Regions from separate parts of the Homo sapiens genome. Here regions 1 and 2 are each linked to region 3. The links are contacts of gene promoters, found by promoter capture Hi-C in blood cells and fetal thymus (Javierre and others, 2016). All regions are on one chromosome and are shown on one strand. The core of a region is centred on a gene start or on the middle of the fragment in contact, and the rest is flanking DNA. Distances in the headings are between cores, read along the strand shown.

Region 1 (4,272 bases), core at 816-3,315, 250 kb before region 3:
CTATTACAGCTGCTGTTTTTGTTGAAAATCTAAGCTATAACTTAATATCAAATTACAACATTTCTAGGCAGACCTAAAAAATACTTTCTTATATGTGAAATATAACCTAAAAAGACTGTAAGTTGTGTAAATTGTAAGATTCTAGCCATAAAATTTCCTGCAGTCAAAATGCAGAAAGATCTTATCAATCTATTGGCAATTGACATTATGGTAAGAAGCTTATGGGTTTTTTTTTAACATCTTAGAAATAAATGTTTTATTGTATCTAAAATAAAGCTTTAACATTTGTGATTATTGATTGTAGACCCACCTTTATACACTAAATGGTTCAGACTGTAACATCAAACATAATGTAATTTAGGTAATACTTCAACTCACGTCAGTAGAAATGCCAAGGTTGTGCTCAACATTTAGGTGAACAATGTAAGGAATATGCTCATTAATGTAAAAAATAATATATTTGTTATTTAGCTAATGAAGAATTTTGAGACCCCAAACCACTATCGAATATCCAGCATGCCTTATTTGTCTGGAACTAGACTTCTGAGGCTATTTTTATTCCCTGTGATTTACCACCAGTATCCTCTGGGTGATAGTTGAGGAAACAGATGCTGGGAATCTCTCTGCTCAGTTCCTGAGAGGAGAGTTCTGACTCACAGCCTTGCCAGCTCCCTGCTTTGTACTCACATAAGCAAAGGGTGGTGAAGTAAAACGTAAATGACTGCCTGATTTCCAGTCTCTCATTGCCAGTTTCCTCAAAGTTTCCACTTACGCATTTGCCTCCCTTACCAATTTCGTTTGAAGTTCCTTTTCCAAAATCCTGAACGGCATGTTCCCAGGATACATTTACTTTTTCAAAAAAATTCATTCAGTGGGGATTTTCCAACTGAAATTAAAAAAAAAAAAAAGGAAGACTGGAGAGGGGGCATTCTTTTTTTTCGGCTTTTTCATTTACTGTCAATTGATTGTATTGATATCTGCAGAAGGAAGATGTAGATTTTTTTAAAAAAATTGTAAAATGTTCCCCTCTAAGCTCTAAGCACATTTTTCTTATGGAAAATCATAAACCTTCCTAAAAGTTTCCTGTATTCTGTTATTTATTGTGAAAGGATTTAAACTAACATAGATATGCTTCCATTTGGAGATTATACTTAAATTGTTAGTTTAAAAAAATTAATCTTTATTAAATGTCCACAAGGTATAGAGCATTCTTCTTTCTTTGTGCGTCTAGGCTGACAAAAATACACAGGGGGAAGAAATCTATGAAGTTTAAATACCTTTTATAATGAATTTAAAACAGAAGCATACGCCACATTATAGACTGAGAATTCAATTTCACAAGGCAGCAGTTTCTCTTAAAACTATTATTTTAGGTCGGGCGCGGTGTCACGCCCTGTAATCCCAGCACTTTGGGAGGTCAAGGAGGGTGGATCATGACATCAGGAGTTCGAGACCAGCCTGACCGTCATGGTGAAACCCGTCTCTACTAAAAATACGAAAATTAGCCAGATGTGGTGGCACGCACCTGTAATCCCAGCTACTCAGGAGGCTGAGGCAGGAGAATCACTTGAACCTGGGAGGAGGAGATTGTGGTGAGCCAAGATCCTGCCCCTGCACTCCAGTCTAGGTGACAGAGCAAGACTCTTTTTAAAAAAAAAAAAGCTATTATTTTACAGAGAAATTAAATTCACTGGCCAGAGTATGTTTTTACAAAGTTTTTCTTTAAAAACCTACCTTTACTTTATTGAAAACAATGGGACCTATATGGATAATTTTCTTTTTTTTTTTTTTTAGCTGGAGTTTCGCTCTTGTTGCCCAGGCTGGGAGAGCAATGGCGTGATCTCAGCTCACTGCAACCTCTGCCTCCTGGGTTCAAGCGATTCTCCTACCTCAGCCTCCCGAGTAGCTGTGATTACAGGCATGCACCACCACGCCTGGCTAATTTTGTATATTTAGTAGAGACAGGGTTTCTCCATATTGGTCAAGCTGGTCTCCAACTCCCGACCTCAGGTGATCCCCCGCCTCAGCCTCCCAAAGTTCTGGGATTACAGGAGTGAGCCACCACGCCTGGCCAATAATTTTCTAAGTGTAATCTTATGTGAGTAAATTAAATTTCCTTATCAAATGCCACTGAACTACCTGAATGTTTGCTTATTAATCCCATAATTTAGTGTGGCTTAACAATAGCCTGGATAATTGATTTAGACTATTTTTATATTAGGAAAACTTGGCAATTGTTATTGCATTTCAGATAAAAAGAGTTTAGGTTGACAAGTTAAGTCTCACAGCATCACCGCGACACCTTCTGGAAGTATATCTATGTGAGACGGAACAAGTCAACCTACTACTAATCCAACAGAAATCTGTCTGGGAGAAGGGGAGTGAGGAAAGGTGTCGGTTTGTTAGCATGTAGAGCAAGCAGCCTACTAAAGACTAAATTATTGCTTTCCATCACAAAGACACTTACCCATCCTCAAGTTGACCACCATCTTGTTCTCTGTGAAAGACCTGGCTGGTAGATTGGGCCGCCTCACTAGCATCAAATAAATATTCCTTACCAGCCACAAAGGGAAAATATATTGAGCCAGATTAGTAACATTCTAATAGAAAATGTGGCATTTTGAATGAGGAAAACTACTTCAGTGAAAAAATTTGGTAAGATGCCCACAATGAGCAAAGAACCTTAAAATGCAAGAGATTCTCCAGTGGAAAATGGCCTAATCTTTATGAACTAACTGCTACACAAAAGGCAAAAAGTCAACACAAAAATTGACATTTAAAAAATCTATTCGCCAATAATATTTTGCAAAGATATTATACACACACGCACGCACACACACACACACACACACACACACAGTAAAGGAAATATAACTGATGAATGATGCTGAACTACTTTTGTAGCTGTTTAACAGTTACAATCTTGGGGTCTATGTATGCACAAAAACACCAAGTAACCAAATGATTCAGTTAGACATTAAGCAAAGAAAGTCAGTGAAACTTGCTGTATGATCTGAACAACTATTTGGGCACCCAGGCAAAGAGGTAAATTCACCACTTATATATAAATGAAAAAGACAGGGTCAGTAATATGCTTGTTGTGATGCAGATTAGGGAAGGGTAAAAAATGTCTTAAATGAACACTTCAATTCTGGTATATGATTACAAAACTAAAATCCCTGCAGTATACACAAATACAATTGCCTAACTTCAAAGTCCCAGGAAGCACCCACAAGGAAAAAACACACTCTGATTTTAATGTCTTCCTGATCCCCTCAAATGGCCTAATATGTATAATATTGAAAGTCAATTCTGTAGCTTCTCAAGGGTTAAATTCTTTGTTGCAAATAACTCTAAAAAAGTATCCCAGTAAGAATCAGGCTTAGACTAGTTCAGCAAGAGGAACCGTTCCATAATGAGGCTTGGCCTGGACCAGTCCCAGGAGAATTAATTTTGTGCCGTAGAACACCTAGATAAATTAGTTTTGCTTTAAATATCGAGTCCTAAAAGAGTTAAAAGAGGGAGAATATCAATCAATAATTTTTAGATTAACTACTTTGTATATGACAAAACAAAATTAACTTTGGCATTATAACCACTTTCTCTCGCATTTCTGATAAGCCCCAAGTTTAAAATAAGTAATTAGAGATTTAAAAACCAACCGAATATGTGCATTTGTTTCTTGTTACAAAATACTAATTCACTGCCTAGTTTGTAAAAAAAAAAAAATTACTCATACATTTTGCAAAATTACAAATATTGTTATTTTTATTAAAATAATCACACCTGAGAAGAATTCAGAAAATATGTAGACAAATTCCTGTAGGGTTTTTTTCATGGAATTGCTAAAGGAATTAAGCTTTAAAATTAAGTGAAAAATAATATTTCAGTTAACAAAGTTAGGTTCTTGAAATTATATTTTCATTGATTAATTCCTTCCAATGTCTACCCATTACTTCTCTTTTATAAAATTTATTTGTATTGAAACATTTGTGCAGAATTAAAATCATACCTACAAATGATAACAAATTTAACCTAAAACTCCCTTGTGTTTTAAAGGCTTTTTCTGGTTAAATGCCTACCAGAAAGGCAAATACAAAATTCATTTCCATAAGAGATGAAATCAGGCTTTTAACCTAGCCAATTGCCCATATAAACAATCTTCAATATTATTTGGTCATCATTTGGTAATTAAAATGGAAAATCACAACCATGCTGAATTTACTCCAGGTGCCAAAAAAGTTATTTAGCAGATAACTAGAGATAGAGAAA
Region 2 (4,506 bases), core at 684-3,183, 220 kb before region 3:
TTTACTAAACCTATGACTGTTTTTATCTGCTGTTATCCATCCCACTATATGAAATATACGAAAGCATGTTTCCAGGAAATTCCAGAGTTTTAGACAAACGCTTCTTGATAAAAGCCATTAATGGCTTTTTAGACAGTTTAAGTAGAATGGTACAAACAGAAGCCTCATCACAGGGGTTTCAGAAAAGGAAAACAAAAAGACAATAGGTATAGAACGACTCATTTGTCTATAGATTTGGAAAATGTCATAGGGTCGAGTGAAGATATTTGCCAAATTGAAGGAGGTAAGGACATATTTAGAGCCTCTGGGAAAGATGACAGATCTCAAGGACTAAGATTTGAATGCCGGAACAAAGCAGAATAGAAAAAGACTAGAGTTGTGTTTTCAAAAGAATAGGGAATATTTCGTAGACTTAGAAGGAGCTAGAGGTGGTAGCCTGAACTTTAGGAATAGGAATTCTTAGTGATTTGCCTGCAGTGTAGTAGATGTCAATGACTGAAGGATGACTGAGGATCTTAAGAAAGATGTGGCTTCTTCTTTCTCAGAAAAGCCACAGGGAGTGACCCCTGCAAATCCTTCCGAGTATAAGGTGTACACCCAGTGACAGCCTTCCTCACAGGACATAGTTATCACAGCATTGATGTGATCATTCCTCTCTTAATTAGGATTCAGTGCAGATGCAATTGGCTGAAAACCCAAAATAACAGTGGCTTAGGTAAGATAGAAATTATAGTCATTATTGGGATTATCCACACATTCTGGTTCTCCTGCTTTTAGGGCAAATAGACTACTTGCCTACCTTTTTGAAGTTAGATATGGTATGTGACTTGCATTAGTCAGCAAAATGGCATGTGTTATTTTCAGTTCCAAGCCTTATCAGTATACAATTCACTACATTCCTTTTGTCTTTGTCAGCAATGGTGGAAGCATTGGTTGACATGGACACTGTCAGCCTGGCTTTCTGAGTACCCACAATGAGCAGAGTCCCCCTGCTGACCAGCAATGGACATGTGGTGTGATCAAGAATAAACTTGCGCTGGGCATGGTGGCTCACGCCTGTAATCCCAGCACTTTGGGAGTCCAAGGCAGGCAGATCACAAGGTCAGGAGTTCGAGACCGGCCTAACCAACATGATGAAACCCCATCTCTACTAAATATACAAAAATTAGCCAGGTGTGGTGGCGCGTGCCTGTAATCCCAGCTACTCAGGAGGCTGAGGCAGGAGAATCACTTGGAGGAGGTTGCAGTGAGCTGAGATCACACTACTGCACTCCAGCCTGGGCAGCAGAGTGAGACTCCATCTCAAAAAAAAAAATAGAATAAACTTGTTGTTTTGAGTCACGGGTTAAATTTCTTTCTCACACAAAAGTCTGAGTGGTGGGGCTAGGACTGATACAGTGATTCATGGTTTGAGGGACCCAAGGTCCTCTGTCTTGCTGTTCAGCTGTGCTTGGCATGCTCATGCTTCATGGTTACAGCACTCAAGCTTTAAGCAGCAGGAAGCAGGAAGGCATGGAGAGGCAAAGGGTGTGCTGCACGTCAAGGAAGGCTCCCAGAAGCTCTCTTCCACTTGGAAACCTTTGGCCAGAACTTGGTCCCATGGCTGCACCTATAGTTGCAAGGGAAAGGGAATCAACGAAGACTGGGTGAGGCCAGCCAAAAATTGTGGGTTATTTGACCACATAAAGGGACCCGGAGGACTGCATTCTGCCTTAACTCTCAAGAACTCCTTGTATAAATGTGGAGATGATAGGATTGCACTGTCCCTCCCCATTTTTCATAAAAATAAAGAAGTAGTGAGAATATTGATCAATGTGGATGATGAGAGATTGAGGCCACCCTAACTAATTTAGTTGTTGGAAGGGGGATTTTTTTCTTCCCCAACACCTCCGTTGGTAAGAGATTATAAGACAACCATCTTCATTATGACCTTCAACAAGATTTGAAATGGACTCTTTGTAGTCATTTCATGTACTTGCTCATCTGGCTACTTTTAAAGAAACAAATTCAAATTTCTATTATCTGCTATGATATATCATTAACAGCCCCCAAAATACAAGATACAGAGATAATAGAACGGCTGACATAATCACATTTAAGTGAGTTTGGCTGTACATTCATTGTTTCTTGCAAAGACCAGAGCTACAGAAAAATAGATCAATGTGATTAAGTCTAACATTGGGGAATTGTTTCTCCATTGTGTCTGAGCTGAGGCTGGCAGCAGGAATTAGTGCTGCTACCTTTAAAGGGTAGACCACGATTGATCTGGTTCCCAAGGCAGTCATTGAACAGACGTGGTGAAACTGGTCACAGCAGAGCTACATTACACGCAGGAAGTGCCCTACTGTTAAAAGAGTGTGCCCAGTTCAAAGCAAAGTGAAAAGCTTTTTGTTTGTTTTAGTTTCACATCTAAGTTCATTTTTGGTCACCATTCCTTAAATAGAATTTTTTTTCATCATCAAGCATGGGTCTTAAGCATTTTTGGTGAGCACTACACATAGACCAGGAAGGAAATAGAATCCGACACGCCAAGGACTTATGGCCCAAGATGTGGAGAGGAGAAAGGCTGACCGCTGAGTATATGGCAACTTTTGTACCAAAATTTACCATTAAAAATGCAAATCAAAAGAGAACCTGAGGCAGGCAGTGGCACAGTGGCACTGTGCTCTCCCTCTCTTTTCCTGGACCTCTGCAATACTTCTTTGCCTGCTTCCTCCCTTTATTTGTATAGTGGAAAATCTGTTGTCCATTGCTGGAGTTCAAGCATGCCTGGGCATGTTTGTCAAACTGGCAGGGCAGGCCTTGCAGAGGCCTCGAGGGGCCCTTGACAATGGACTCAGACTGGGTGTGCTACTTAAACATATCCAGACAAGTCAGGCAAATGAGTAGGGAGTGGAGGAACAGGGTATGTGTGAGATGTGGAAAAGTGTCCCAACAAAAAAAAAAATCACTCTTGGGGAAGAGGGAGAACCTCAGCTGCATGACATGAGGACTGATTTATTTTCACCTTTCAAAATCATTCTTTTTTTTTTTTTTTCAGTCCTAGGAAATTGGGTCAGAATCTGCGTATCTAATGGGATCGTTACTGTTACACTTGTAAGATTTGGAATCCGTTCAAAAAACAAGCCAGAAACAAGCCTTTGTATACGTTAGGAAAAGATGCCCTGCATTAGAGCCCGGCCAAGGGAGAGATGGGGGCAGGTAACTGCAGTCCAAAACTGAGCAGCCACTCCTAGAAGCTCTGCTTGAAATTCATGCTGTTAAGACAAGCGACCAAAAGTATTTAACTCCTGCATTGACCTAGGCACCTCTCCTCCCAGCAGTTACCTGGGAAAGATACTCAGAATCAATGAGAAATGGGAAATCAAAGAACCTGCTATGGACTGAATTGTATCCCCTCCAAAATGCATATCTTGAAGCCCGAACCCCAGTGTGATGGTATTTGGAGAGGTGACCTTTGGGAGGTATTAAATAAAATTTACATGAGGCCATTGGTTTGGACTTGTTGCCAGTAAACTGAGTTTTTTCCCCACTTTGTATTGATGGCAAAGGAAGAATGTCCAGTTGGAAAAGGCAATCAGGTTTTATTCACTGGCCAAGAAGGAAGAAGGGGAGGCTCTCGCTCTAAACGCCCCTTCTCCCTGAACAGTAGAAGTTATGGGTACTTTAGGGACTGGGTATAGGGAGGGAGAGGGATGTTAGCATGTGCAGGGTGGGACTCCAGACACACAGGCTTAATTCAAAAACATACATCTTCATACAATGCATGTACAGAAAATGGAAGAGATTTTTCTTTTAGGGGAGGGATTTTAGCATTATAATGATATGTTAATGATCTGAAGGCAACTAGGGATCACTGTTGCAGTTTGCGCTGGTTAGCAGGTCTTATCTCCTTCTGGTATCTTGCCAGGGGTCAAAAAGCTCTGGCGCCATTCTGGCCTGTCTGGTTTCTTTAAGCAGCTGTGCCTATAAATAAAGCGACTAAAGGAAAGCATTTAAAAGAGGAACTTTCCCAGTTATTTCATCAGGGCTGCCCCAGTAACAGACAGCTTCTATGCCAGGCCCCAAAAGGCTAGACCAAAATGGAGTCACTCATGCCACATAATCAAACTAAAACTTTAAGGAAGCAGGGAAAACCCCAAACAGAGTGTTATCCCGAAAACAGAAGGTTCACAGCTACCAATCAGAAAGGCCCCAGTCAACCTGAGCTGGCAAGAAAAGGAAGTTCCCTCTACTTTAACCCTTACAAGGAAAGGTAACCTGATGAAGTAACCTGATGTTAACCATTCCTCTTTCTTAAAAATTCTTGTTTGGCTGGGCGCAGCGACTGATGCCTGTAATCCCAGCACTTTGGGAGGCCAAGGTTGGAGGATCACTTGACTGCAGGAATTTGAGACCAGCCTGAGCAACAGCACGAAACTCTGTCTTTATTATTTTTTGAAAAGTATATTTAAAATTTTTTTAAATCATTGTTTCCTTGTTCCCACCTTACAAAAATAAACTGCT
Region 3 (4,683 bases), core at 48-2,547:
ACCATTTCTCTGTTGCTAGACATTTGGACTGTTTTCAATGGTTTGGTATCTCTTCGTATATAAATTTCAGAAGACATTCGGACCTCCTGTAAAGGCCAGGTAATACATATTTTGGGGCTTCTGGGACCACATAAGGTCTCTGTTGCATATTCTTTTAAAAAATTTCTTGTTTTCTTTTAACAACCCTTCTCAAATACAAAAACCATTAGCATGAGGGCTGTGTAAAAACAGGCCACAGACTAGAGCTGGCCCTCCAACAGCAATTTGCTTAGCCCTTAATTGAGAGTTTTTAACCAGTCTGGGCCTCTTTGGAAGTTCACTCTAAAGGCATAATCTCAATTTTAGAAGCTGGCAACACCCAAGAGAGCAATTGTTAGTCTCTAGTCCCATGGATGTGGTGTTCTTCAGATTCCTCTGCCAATATTTTTCTTGTTAGGAAAGCATGATGTGAAAGTGGTGACAGGATGGAGAATGACAATGGCCAGTGTATGTGAGTTTTTGTCTAAGCTAATTCTTATGCAAGACACCGGCTGAAACAGGTGAGGAGCACTTTTCACGTGCTATCTTCCAGAAATGAATTCAATCTGTAAATAACTGAGATGTCTTCACAGCTCTTGGGTAATTTTTGTCTGTAGCAATAAGAAACTTTATCTCTATTAAAGTTAGGAAGGGGTTAGGATCCAGTAATGAATGAAATGAGAACTTAAGTTGCAACTCAGTTTCTGTACTTACTTGTGATCTAGCATTAAACACAGTGCCAGGCACGAAATAGGTGGTGAGAAATAAGAAAATGATAGAGCTATTTGCTCTAATGGTTAGAGGCAATGATGGTCAGCTTTGAGTTACTTTGGTGACCCCGCAGGGAGGAAGAGCACAGGTGGAACATTAGAATCTCTTTCAGGAAAAGGATGCCGCTGGATCCATCAGGTCCAGTAGCACTGCCCATTTCTCCTGCTCCAAGGCATCTGCCCTCGAAAGCCCCCAGGCCACACCCGAGGACACCACCCAGGGTTCTAGGACACCTCGAGGGCGGACGTGGTTTGGCTCTCGGTCCAGCTGGACCGGGCTGGGCCAACCGGGAGTCAGCTCGAACTCACCTGCTTGGCAGGTGCGCGCTTCCCGAGGCGTGACAAGGGAGCGCCGGCGCGGTGGGTGGGGGGCAGAGAATGTGAAGCTCCAGACGCATGGCACCCGCCGCCAAGTCGCCGCGGTGGCTGCCGGGATGCGCCGCAGCGAATGGTCGCGCCGGGCGCCGCTCTGAGTGACCTTTCACCCGCGCCCAGCGGTTCCGGGCGGCAGCACAAGGCGGTAGCCATGGCGGAGGCGGCGGCTGCAGCGGGTGGGACTGGCTTGGGCGCGGGCGCGAGCTACGGGTCTGCAGCGGACCGGGACCGGGACCCGGACCCGGACCGCGCCGGGCGGAGGCTGCGGGTTCTCTCTGGCCATCTGCTGGGCCGGCCCCGGGAGGCTCTGAGTACCAATGAGTGCAAAGCGCGGAGAGCCGCGTCGGCGGCCACGGCAGCGCCCACGGCCACTCCCGCCGCGCAGGAGTCGGGCACCATCCCAAAGAAGCGGTGAGTAGCGGTATGTGGAAGGAGTTAGCGTCGAGGGACCAGGCCGGGCCTGTGCTGCAGGAGGGCACAGGCGAGGTGGGAAGGGAAGTGACACGGGTGGGCGGAAGGCATCCCGGTCCCTGAAAGTAGGGACCCACCTCTCTTTCGAGAGAGTGGACTAGACCCTGGATTCTGTCAGGAAGGGGGCGGGATGGGATGGTGGATTTTGGTCACTATGTGAGGGTAACAGGCTTGAAGAACTCTCGTTGGAGAAGGGTTTAAAGGATTCCTTTTTCCTGAGCTTTTAGTGCCAGGAATTCATTTTTTATCTTGAATTAATACTTTTGGTGCTGAGGTCTTGGAATGGGTAGCAGAGGTTCTATTTTTCTCCGAGGAGATATAAATTTGTACTAGATGATAGATCATAGGAATCTCTCTCATTCGCGAAAGCCTGCTGTGGGGGAAACTGGTGGTGCCCTGGAAAAAGGTGCTGACTGGTTTCTGTGGGGTAAGTTCCACTTGCTTAGGATCAAGATGTATTGACTTTGAGGGAGGAAACCGATGAATGGTAAGAAGCCATAAACTGCAAACACTAGCTAGTGGTTTAAGGTGTGGTGGTATAGCTACTGAGCTCTGTGTAACCAGAAGCTAAAAGACAAGAGTCTAACCGATGAGGGATGTTTGTAAGAGATCTTGACTTTCGATGTTTTTGGAGAAATCTTTTTTTTTTTTTTTGTATTTTTAGTAGAGACAGGGTTTCACCGTGTTAGCCAGGATGGTCTCGATCTCCTCAATCTCTGATGAAGGCTATTAGGAGAAGCTACTTTCTGACGTGTGGCTTTGTCACCGTGGATAAATGGATAAACCGAGAGTGAAAAAAATAAGTAGCTAATGTTTAAAGTGTACTTTTAAGTGTGCCAAAGTGTGCTAAATCCTTTGTTTCTTCCCAAGCTATGAGGTATGTGCGGTTTTCTCCCATTTTACAGATGAATAAATTAAGTCTGCTGGAGTCTTAGCAGATATGCTGTGTGACAGGTTAGAATTTGAAAGCACATCAAATTGACTTCATGGCCAAGTTCCTAAGCTATACTTGCTTCTGATGAATTAATTCAACATACATGAGTCTTTACAAAATACACACTGTACCAGCAATACAGAAATTTAAAAATACGGTATTTACTCTTAAGGAAGGAATAGCTTAGTAGGTAAAATTATAATACAGCGTTATAAGAAACTTAACTGGGAACTATACCACCTGGTCATTTAACCCAGTTTTGGGTTTGTGTTTGTTAGTGCAAAGATGTTCCAAAGTAAAGATTGTCTGAGTAAATTTTGGATGTTTGCATTACTAATAGTTTGCCAAAGGGGGAAATTGTTCTTGGCATACAAACAGTATGTTCACAGGTAAAGAAGTGAGAGACAAATTAGGGAACTGCTGAGACTCAAGTGTAGTAGGAGAGGGTGAGAATGACAGGGGACGAAGACTGGAGAGGTGAATCTTGTTTACAGGATTTTACGTGGGGCAATACATGATTAGATTTACCTTTGATAAAGGTCACACTGGGAGCAAATTGAAGACAGTTGAGCATTTTGGCAGTATAATGGCTGGGAACATAGACCTGGATTTCAATTTCCACTACACCGTTACAGCTCTATGATCTTGGGCAAATCACTTAACCTCTGAGAGTTTCAGTCACCGTCATTTGTAAAAACGGGAACAGTAATCCTGTTTTGCAGTGTTGCTGTGAGAATTGAAAAAAATAGAGTTAAATGATCAAGTGTTTAGTGCAATGCCTGTTACATAACCTTTCAAAGAATGGTAGCTGCAATTTTCACAGTGTCTAAAGGCAGAGAGACTAGGAGACTATTATTCCAGGGAGAAATGCTGGGATTCTGAACTAAGGCATATTATTGGGAGTAGGCAACTTAATTGAGAAAATGCTAGGAGGTAAATTTTCCATAACTTGGTTACTGAGTGGTGGGGAGGGGAGGAATAAAGGATTTCATCTCGTCTCCTGGCTTCAATTGAGGTTATATTATTAATAGCTGTCATTAGGTTTAAAATTTTCTAAATGGTTTCATGTACATTTATGTGTTCTCATTTGTATGCATATATGTGATTGTACATTTTATGTAGATTCACACTCTTAGAACCAAGTAAGGAGGGCAGGTTTTCCTTATGGTTAGATTTAATGGCTTGGTTTACAGCATTCAGAGAAAAAATAGTAACGTTTGTAAGGCACACCAAGATGATGGTTGAAGGTGACTGGTCAGGGATGCCCTGTGTGGCTGCTCCAAGGACTGAAGGCATCGATAGTTCAGGCACGACTGTAACCCATTTGTTGCATAGGTTACAGCTGGTGGGAAGCCCTGGTCTTTGGTTCGGGGTTAGACGACTAGTGGTAAAATCTAGTCCTGTACTGGTACTTTGAGATTTTCATCAAAATATGAGGGAACACAGAAACTTGTATTAGATGACACATCAAAAGCTTCCACAGAGGGTGATATACTTGATAGATAATCATGAGGAACCCAAGTCTCCCTTCTACTTCCTACTTAGCTGGGCCTGCAGTTGCCAGCTACAGAATCCAGCCTAAAGGGAAGATAAATGATAGAGGAAGAAGGAACCACAGTATATATCTAATAAGGTGTGAGTATGCCTATATGTCAATTATTTTGGAATAATTTTGTGATTTGTGTATTATTCCTTCCCTTTTATTACTTTGGATGATAACATTGCTTGTAATTGTTTTATCACATGGTTGTTTTATCACATGGTTGGTTATATCACATGGCCTGGAGTAGTGACTTCTTGAAATGCCATATTTTCATTCCTGTTACAGAATAGTCATGCATATGTTTCAACATTTATAGAGTAGTTGCTTTATGAAGGTCCTGTCCTAGGCATTGGAGGTAAAGAGATGAATAAGTAGTCTTCAGCCTCAAAGAGTTCACAATCTAGGAAGTGAGAGACACAGTGCAGTTTGATTAGAGCCACTGTAGATACAGGTACAAATGTAGCACAAAGGAAAGACTGACTTACTCTATATGGGGGTGGGAGGGTGGGGGTGGTCAGAGGAAGCTTTCTGGAGAAGATTTTAAAATGTGGATGGTATTTTGAGAGTTTATA

What was found. Contacts are between HindIII fragments. The CHiCAGO score rates a contact against its expected background, and 5 or more counts as called.
Region 1: a contact is called between a fragment that was not itself captured here and the fragment with the promoter of AGPS in region 3, in 2 of 17 cell types (monocytes and neutrophils). The highest score is 6.0, in monocytes.
Region 2: a fragment that was not itself captured here is called in contact with the fragment with the promoter of AGPS in region 3 in 3 of 17 cell types (monocytes, M0 macrophages and neutrophils); the score reaches 9.1 in monocytes.

What each region holds. Positions count from the first base shown.
Region 1 is chr2:177,142,951-177,147,222 of GRCh38, forward strand. All of the region lies in intron 1 of LOC105373760 (a long non-coding RNA gene), which reads right to left. Among named protein-coding and RNA genes, the nearest start is that of MIR4444-1, 68 kb to the right of the region's middle. The HindIII fragment of the contact is 3,583 bases long and covers 275-3,857 here.
Region 2 is chr2:177,167,578-177,172,083 of GRCh38, forward strand. No RefSeq gene overlaps it. Among named protein-coding and RNA genes, the nearest start is that of MIR4444-1, 43 kb to the right of the region's middle. RefSeq lists enhancers at 744-1,038, 1,923-3,122, 2,701-2,870. The HindIII fragment of the contact is 898 bases long and covers 1,485-2,382 here.
Region 3 is chr2:177,391,476-177,396,158 of GRCh38, forward strand. AGPS (alkylglycerone phosphate synthase) reads left to right here and starts at 1,298. Exons shown (of 20, transcript NM_003659.4): 1 at 1,298-1,574. The coding sequence starts at 1,315. LOC100130691 (Putative uncharacterized protein FLJ44553) reads right to left here and starts at 1,216. Exons shown (of 9, transcript NR_026966.1): 1 at 1,098-1,216. RefSeq lists silencers at 1,298-1,517, 2,726-3,020. The HindIII fragment of the contact is 4,249 bases long and covers 1-4,040 here.